2 separate regions of the Homo sapiens genome follow, and region 2 is linked to region 1. The links are contacts of gene promoters, found by promoter capture Hi-C in human tissues and cell types (Jung and others, 2019). All regions are on one chromosome and are shown on one strand. Each heading gives the region's core, a stretch centred on a gene start or on the middle of the fragment in contact. The rest is flanking DNA. Distances are from core to core; before and after follow the strand shown.

Evidence for each region. The method cuts DNA at HindIII sites, captures the fragments that hold promoters and counts their contacts. A contact is called where the count stands out against the background at its distance.
Region 2: a contact is called between a fragment that was not itself captured here and the fragment with the promoter of ENTHD1 in region 1, in 1 of the 25 tissues and cell types used here (small bowel).

The regions. Positions count from the first base shown.
Region 1 is chr22:39,891,482-39,895,814 of GRCh38, reverse strand. ENTHD1 (ENTH domain containing 1) reads left to right here and starts at 2,055. Exons shown (of 7, transcript NM_152512.4): 1 at 2,055-2,120. It also overlaps a transcript of GRAP2 not described here. The HindIII fragment of the contact is 22,421 bases long and covers 1-4,333 here.
Region 2 is chr22:39,848,815-39,853,147 of GRCh38, reverse strand. All of the region lies in intron 3 of ENTHD1 (ENTH domain containing 1), which reads left to right. Among named protein-coding and RNA genes, the nearest start is that of ENTHD1, 43 kb to the left of the region's middle. The HindIII fragment of the contact is 5,099 bases long and covers 1-4,333 here.

The DNA of each region.
Region 1 (4,333 bases), core at 806-3,305:
GCCTTTATTATAGCAACTACTTACAATTGCTGATTTATTCCTGTTTCCTCTATTAGAGTATTAAACTACAACTTCCTTCTAGTCTCATAGCTCAGCATAGTGCTTGGCAAATAGCAGGTGCTCAATAATGTAGAATGTATGCATATTCCACAAACTCAGCTTTCTCACCTGTACAATGGGATAATAACGCCTACTTCTCAGCATTCCTTTGAGATTTACATAAGCTATACATATAAAAAAACTTCATAAACTATACCTCAATGTATAAAATACTTGTAGTTTGTCCCCCACTATTTTATAAAGTCAAAATACCTCAACATAGCATTCAAGGCCCTGAACAATGTTTTCCAGGTCACCTTTTCGATTTCCCTCTGGCTCCCACCCCATTACTCTATATTATAGCCAGTCAAATAATATTCCAAACTCACCAACTTCTTTCATACCTCCTATCATTTTATATTGGATTCACCTATCTACATGTCAGTATCAATAATGTGGGCTATTATTATTATAATTATGACTGAAGTAGTAGGAGATAGAAACAAATGTTGCTTTTGTCTACTAAGTGTTTTGTTATCCTCTGTCTTTTCCCCTCATCCTAGTCAATATTCCATTAAAACACAGGTTCGATTACATTTTTCAATGCCTACTGGATAAAATCACCTTGTAGTATGGATAAGGTTCTTCATGATCCAACTTCCCTCTGTTATTTAACCTTCCTCTGCTGCTCCACTAATAGCCTTTGTGACAGTTGTAGTAACTACAGTACATGTAGTTTTTCCAAGATAATAGGCTGGCTCAGCTTTCATGCCTTTACACATGATGTGTCCTTTGCCTCTTACGTCCTCCTCTACTTTGTCTATCCAGTGAACTCCCTGTCATCCTTTAAGATTCAATTCAGATGTAAACTCTTCTGTGAAACCTGCCCTTAAATACTCAGTGGCAGAATTAGATGATCTCTTCTCTCTTACTATGCCATACATATCTTGTTACAATCTTCTCTGACGGTGCCTGTCACCTCCACTAGCCTGTAAACGTATCCAGCAGAGGGCTGCTTTTTATCTCCGAGTCCTTACTGTCTGGCACAAAGTGGGTGCTCACGGAAAATCAGTTGAATACATCAACAATTACCCGTCAGTGGCACCTGAAGCCATCAGTCACTGGAGCTACCCCATCATTGTCCATCACACACACTGCTCTTCATAGACTACTATTACATTCTCAGTCCTTTGAGGTGGCAATCACGTGCTGGTGGTATTTCTAGTCAGTTGAAATGACAGTAGTAACACACTTTTAAAAATGTATTCATGTGCCATGCTGGTGCGCTGCACCCACTAACTCGTCATCTAGCATTAGGTATATCTCCCAATGCTATCCCTCCCCCCTCCCCCCACCCCACAACAGTCCCCAGAGTGTGATGTTCCCCTTCCTGTGTCCATGTGTTCTCATTGTTCAATTCCCACCTATGAGTGAGAATATGCGGTGTTTGGTTTTTTGTTCTTGCGATAGTTTACTGAGAATGATGATTTCCAATTTCATCCATGTCCTTAAAACTTAAATAATAATAAATAAAAAAAAAGAGATATTATGCTAGAAGTCTGAGTATTTTACTGATTTTCCATTTTAAGAATAAATTATCATGGCAAATTTTAAGTTACATACATTATTTTATTGTCTACTTTTTAAAAACATTATCAGCTTACCTTGGCATTTTTTTTCTTTTTTTAATGTCCGTTTTTACGTTGTGAACATTTAGTAAATTAATTTATACTCATTTTTATTTAATTAAGAAAGCAGCTAAGAATAAATGCTAGTGTCTGATTAAACTATTTCCCAGATCTCAAAAAAAAAAAAAAATTTATTCTTTGAAAGGAGGATTAGGGCAGTGTCACAGCCCGGCAGCCTGTGAAACGAAGACACTTACCTTCATTCCCCTTGGTACCCTCCAGCTCAGGTATCTGCAACCATCTTGCTTGACGCCCTGACAGGAACTGCACCAGGCCAGAAAGTGAGGAAGCGGAAGTGGGGACCGGCCTGGGCCCTTGAGCCTGGCTGGAGTAGGTGGAATATCCTGGGGAGAGGAAGTTTGGTCGTTGGGCAGCGGCCGACTTTCCTCTCAGGTAACAGCCTCTGCTTGGGAGTGGTGGTGGGGCTCAAGGCGGGTCTGGAAACATCGGTTGCCTTCCCTCCTCCCGTTTCTTGCCGGCACCGTCGGAGTCCAGGTGGGGGCGGGAGGGCGGCGAGGCCATTACCATCCGCAGGAGGTGAAATCCCTGTGGCGTGACGTGACGCCATCACGTCCCTCTCTCCTTCTAGAGGCTTTCCTGAGGTCCAGCCTTCCCCTCCACTGCCGGTTCTCCTAGGGTAATTGCTGGTCTGATTCTCTGTGTGGCCGAACGCCCAGCACCTGGCTCATCTGGTACACAGTCGTCATCTGAAGTGGGGGTTGTATGAATGAAGACGAGGATGCCGAGGAAAGGCCCTGCCCACAGAAAGTTGATTCTTGCTCAGCCTCCACCCGCCATTTTCAAAATTCTTTCCAAAGCATCTCGTTTCTTCCTCCCCCACGGCCCTGTCTGGCGATTATTCTTTGTGTTGCGGATGAGGGAACTGAGACTTAGAGAAGTTGTTAAGTCTTAGTTAGGAAATGGCAAAGCAGGACCTCAAATCATGGCTTTGAATCCTAATTAAAGGAGAGAGATGAGGCATGTGAAGGCCCAGGTGTGAGCACATTGTGAGCGTTCAATGAAGAGTAGCTGTTTACTCCAGGGTGTGAGGACTGTGTCTTGTGCACCTGTTTCTCCATTTCCTAGAATGGAGCCTGCCACATGGTAAGCTCTGGAAGATTATTAGTTGAATAAATTAATGAACACACACTTAGGGCTGGAAAAGATTAGATTCTCTGCCTCTGACAGTATTCTTTTCATCAAAACAGTAACACCTCCTAATGGCATGGTAGTCTCTATAACCATTTTCCCGTAGCATTCTTGGCCAGAGCTCATTTCCTTACGAGTCAAACTCATGTCTATAGGCAGAACCTGTACAAACACAAGAGCTGTTCTTTTCTCATAGTTCCACCTTAAATGCATCTTTTCAGAGATAGCTCTGGACACTCAGCCTCTTAGATGCTATTGTCATTATTGTCCCAAGTCTTTGGATAAAGTCAGTTCAGCTCCTCTGTTCCTTATTCTCAATCCTGAAATCCAAAAACTTTTGGAAATCAACTTTTCCTCCAACTCATTTGGTGGTAAAACTTGGCCTGAGGCCATTTGTAGTCTTTATTCCAAATATTTACATGTTTTTATTGCAGACATGTTAATGTGTTTAATTGTTCAGAGCAGCTCCACACCTTACTGTGGGTATCATGTAATATATGGTATAGACATGGCACTACTCTTGAAAATTCCACCCCTACCACCGCACCCAAAAGAGAATTTCCACAAATCATCTGGCCTCAAAGGATTGGGATAAAAGATCGTGGACCAATAGTTTAATGCCAGCTGATAAATCATTTCCTGTTAGAATTCAGATGAAATGGGGGGAAGGAAACAGCATTGTGAAAGTGGGCAGATCTAAAAATAACACTAAAAGACCTTTTCTACGTAATCATTTGTTTTGCTGGGAATTATTTAGGAGAGAAAGCTCCTTAACTGAATGGTAAGTTTTAATGTGAGGTTCATGTTTTATATTTCTCCACAAAGCTATACAAATGGTAGGTACTCAAGAAATATCTGTTGATGATTTGAAAATATTTGCTCAAAACTATAGAATTTTACTTGACAATTATGAGAGCTAGATTTTATTTATTTATTTTTTTAATATCATGCTTTATAGGAGTTTGTGACCATCTGGGCAACCAATAAGAACTCGTGTCTAAAAAAAAAATTTTTTTTGAGGCCAAGCACGGTGGCTCACACCTGTAATCCCAGCACTCTGGGAGGCCGAGGCAGGCGGATCACTTGAGGTCAGGAGTTCAAGACCACCCTGGTCAATATGGTGAAACCCCGTCTCTACTAAAAATACAAAAAATTAGCTGGGCTTGGTGGCTCATGGCTGCAGTCCCAGCTACTTGGGAGGCTGAGGCAGGAGAATTGCTTGAACCTGGGAGGTGGAGGTTGCAATGAGCCAAGATCGTGCCACTTCACTCCAGCCTGGGTGACAGAGCAAGACCCTATCTCAAAAAAAAAAATAAAATTTTTTTTTTAATTAGTTAGGCTTGGTGGTATGCACCTGTAGTCCCAGCTACTTGGGAGGCTGAGGCAGGGGGATTGCTTGAGCCCAGGAGTTTGCAAGCAGCCTGGGCTACATAGTGAGGCTTTATCTCAAAAAAAAA
Region 2 (4,333 bases), core at 1,298-3,797, 43 kb after region 1:
AAGAGACTATGGACATCATTAAATGAGGACTTGCTGTACTGCAAAGTAGTTGTCATGCTTTTATAATAAAAAACAGCAACGTTGATGTTGTTACTTCCTACAAAGAGCTTTGTACTAACAGAGTTGATGTGGAGTCATGCTTGGTTGCCTTGCCACATGTAGATGAGATGGCAGGGCTAATGGTACAAACTGTGGTTGTAACTAAAACATTTGCATTGATAAATGTCAAACAGCTGATCTTTTAAATTTAAAAATAAATATATAAAAATAATTTGTATCTGTACCACCCTAAACCGACCACTGTTAACATCTCAGAATAGTCATGTGTCATATAATGATGTTTCAGTCAATGGTGGACTGCGTGTATGATACTGGTCCCATAAGATTATATTTTTACTGTACCTTTTCTATGTTTAGATATGTTTAGACACACAAATTCTTACCATTGTGTTACAATTGTCCTTGTGTTACAATTGCCTACCACATTCAGTACAGTAATATGCTATACAAGTTCATTGCTTAGGAGCAATAGGCTATACCATATAGCCCAGGTGTATAGTAAGCTCTACCATCTCAATGTGTGTAAGTACACTCTATGATGTTTGTACAACAATGAAATTGCCTAGCAATGCATTTCTCAGAAAGCATCCCTGTTGTTAGGGTATGCATAACTGTTTCTTTTTTATTTTTGTTTCGGAAAACCATTATACTCTTGTAAAAACAATATAGGCTTGTTATATAATTACTCAGAAATAACCATCATTAATATCAGATGATTGCAATTCTAGGCATCTTTTTTGTGAGACAGGCTCTCACTCTGTTGTCCAGGCTGAAGTACAGTGGCACCATCACAGTTCACTGCCACCTTGACCTCCCTGGGCTCAGGTGATTCTCCTACCTCAGCCTCCCAAGTAGCTGGGACTGCAGGCATGCGCCACCACACCGGCTAAATTTGGGTTTTTGGGTTTTTTTTTTTTGGTAGAAACAAAGTTTCACCATGTTGCCCAGGAAGGTCTCAAGCTCCTTGGCTTAAGCAATCTGCTCGCCTCAGCCTCCCACAGTGCTAGGATTACAGGAGTGAGCCATCATGCCTGGACAGCATTTTTAAAAAATCTATACATGCATATAGAGAGATGGATAGCTAGAGAGAAATTATTTTTATAAAAATGGAATTATATGCTGTTTTTTAGTAAAAAATATTAAAGGTCTCCTTCAGGCAATGAGACTAGGAACTCCATTTACTGCACAATAACCAAAGACTGGAAGTGACACACTATTTGCGACACTACTGGCCTCACAAGAAGTATGGGAAGTCTCTAAGTTTCTCTTTTTGAAAAATGTAAAATAAAATAAGAACAGTACATGTGAGCTGAAGTCAGAGTGACTTGGCATTCTGCCTGTGGGAAGCTGCAGGTAACTGTAGGGGTTGAGTTGCTTAAGAGCAGTTGTTAGTAGATCAGAGAATGAGTTTGGGGGCTGTCTTGAGCATTGGGAAGGAAAGCCTTGGGTCACTATGCTGAACCCAGACCCTCAAGGGGACTGAATTGAGAAAGTGTACTCATTTCATAAGTTAAGTCCAATAGGATTTTCACCAGTTTAAGACAAGCAATGAGCTCAAAATCCAATATCACCAAAACAGGAGGAGGTAAGCAGCAAAGAACATACTTAATCCCCCAAAGAGTGTAGATATTGGAAAGGTCAGATACAGAACAGCTGTGTATTTACATAAATAAAGGATATAATCGCATGCATCACCAGTTATCAAGAGATTATTAGGACTGAATGGATGAATTTGAAAAAAGGGAACTTGCAGAAATGAGAAATACTACTGAACTAAAAAAATGTATTTAGTGAGCTAGAAGATATGCCTAAAGAAAATGGAAAATATGAAAGTAATATTAATTAAGCCATATGGAGGATACTGCTACAAAGGAATGACAATTAATTACTGTACCAGAAAGCTTCTCATCTTCTACAGTAGAAGCCTGACGACAGTGACATAGTATCTTAGAAATGCTGAAGGAAAATAACAGCCTATAATTGTGTACCAGCAAGACTATGATTTAAGGGTGAGGGTGAAATAGTTATTTATAGATGAATAAAAAAACGAAGAGAGTTTACAACCATGAGACCTGCATTAAAGGGTATACTTCAAAAAGAGGAAAATTATTCCAGAAAGATAGTTGAAAATTCAAGAGAGAATAATGAATAAATGGTAAACACACACATAAATATAGATACGTATGTATAATAAACATTTGATATATAAATCTAATTTTTGAGTTAAGAAAAAGACAACTAGAATAGTGGGTAGCCACGGTATGTAAGTGGGGGTGGGCAGGTCCAGAGTTGTGTTCTAAAGGTCCTTGTGTTTTTAAGAGAAGGTAATGAATATTCTTTGACTGTAAACTTTTAAAGGTAAACGTGCATGATAAACTTTCAAGAATAAACTTTAAAAGAAGAGAAATAGAGTGCATAAATTCCAGACAAGTAGCAAGAAGAAGTAGAATGAGAAAAAAATAAAATTTTATAAAGGGCAAAAAGCATAAAGTGGAACAAATGGAAATTAAAAAGTAAAATAAATAATAGAAATAAGCCCAGATAGATTAATAATCACAGTAAATAGTAATAGATTAAACTCACCTATTAAAAGGCAGAGACTATCAGATTGGGGAAAGAGAAATCCAGATATATGCTGCAAGCATAAATTCACATAAAGATTGAAAGCAATGTATGGAAAAAGGTAAGTCAGGCATATACAAACTAAAAGAAGGCTGGTGTAGCTACTTAATAACAGGCAAAGGAGACTTTAAAGCCAAGAGCATTAAGGATAATAATAAGATGCTCAATTTCCCAGGAAGATGTAGTATTTCTAAATGTGAATATACCCAGTAAAATAACTTCAAAGTATATAAAGCAAAAGTTGGTAGAACTACAGGAATAAATTGAAATATCTACCATCATAGTAGATAATTTCAAAACATCTTTATTGATAGGTGAAGGACATGAAACTTTTTTTAATATGGATTTTATAATTGATGATATGTGTTATAAAGGAAGTCTTTACATTTCCAAAAATCTGTTTCATAGAGGACACGTTTTCTTACCAAAATACCATTAAATTTGAAGTTAACAAAAAATATAAATAAAAAATTTCCATACATTTGAATGTGGGACTATTTCTTTTAGAATAAGGTGGAAGAAAAGGACATCAGTTCTCCTTGCTACGTCAGCTTTGTAGTGGAGGTCCTAGCCATCACAGTAAAACAAGCAAGAGAAATTAAAAATGTCAGTATCAAAATGGAAGAAACGAGCATCATTTGTAAACGATAGGATTTTCATATAGAAAACTTCGAAAGATCTACAGACATACTAAAAATAGTGAGTTTTAGAAAGATGGCTGGCTATAACATCAAAACATAAAATCAAGTTATATTCTATATATCAGTAACAAATATTAAACATAATTTTTAAGATACCATTTATAATAGCCAAAAATCTTGATTTAGGAATAAGTCTTACAAAAGAAGTACAAAATCTGTACACTGTAGGTTATAATGTTTAATTGAAATACATTAAAGACCTATATAAATGGAAAGATATTCCATGTTTATCAAAATAATAATGTAAACATGTCAGTTCTCTCCAAATTGTCTAGATTTAGTGGAGGGTTTCTCAGCCTTGGTACTATTGATATTTTGAAACAGATCATTCTTTGTTGTGGGAGCTATGCATTGTAGGGTAGTTAGCATCATACCTGGCCTGTACCCACTGGATGCTATTAGCAAACATCCCTTTCTGTTGTATTGAATCAAAAAAGTCTGCAGACATTGCCAAATGTCCCCTGGGGGCCAAATTGTTCCCAGTAGAGAACCGCTGATTCAGTGCAGTTACAATCGAAATCCAAAAAGGGTTTTAAGAGTTGAATTTGATGTACTGATTCCAGAATTTACCTGGAAGAATCAAAAGTTCAAGAGTATCCAAAACATTCCTAAAATAGAGTAAGGTGGAGGGTTTGCCTTTCTAAATAACAAGACTAAAATTTTACTGATCATGACACTGTGGTATGGATGCAGGATAGGTGCATGGACCAATGGAACAAACCATAACCCTAGAAAACAGACCTGGGCCACTATGGAATCAGTAAATGACAGAAGTGGCATTTTTGAATAGTGGAGAAAAACTGAACTGCTCAATAAATAATACTCGGATAATTTTTTATCCATATTGTAAAAATGAAATGAGGTCTCTAACCTGGATGAATTAAGGATTTAAAGGTAAAAAGGCAAAACTTTGAAACGTTTAGAAGAAAATTTAGAATATATTTTTTACA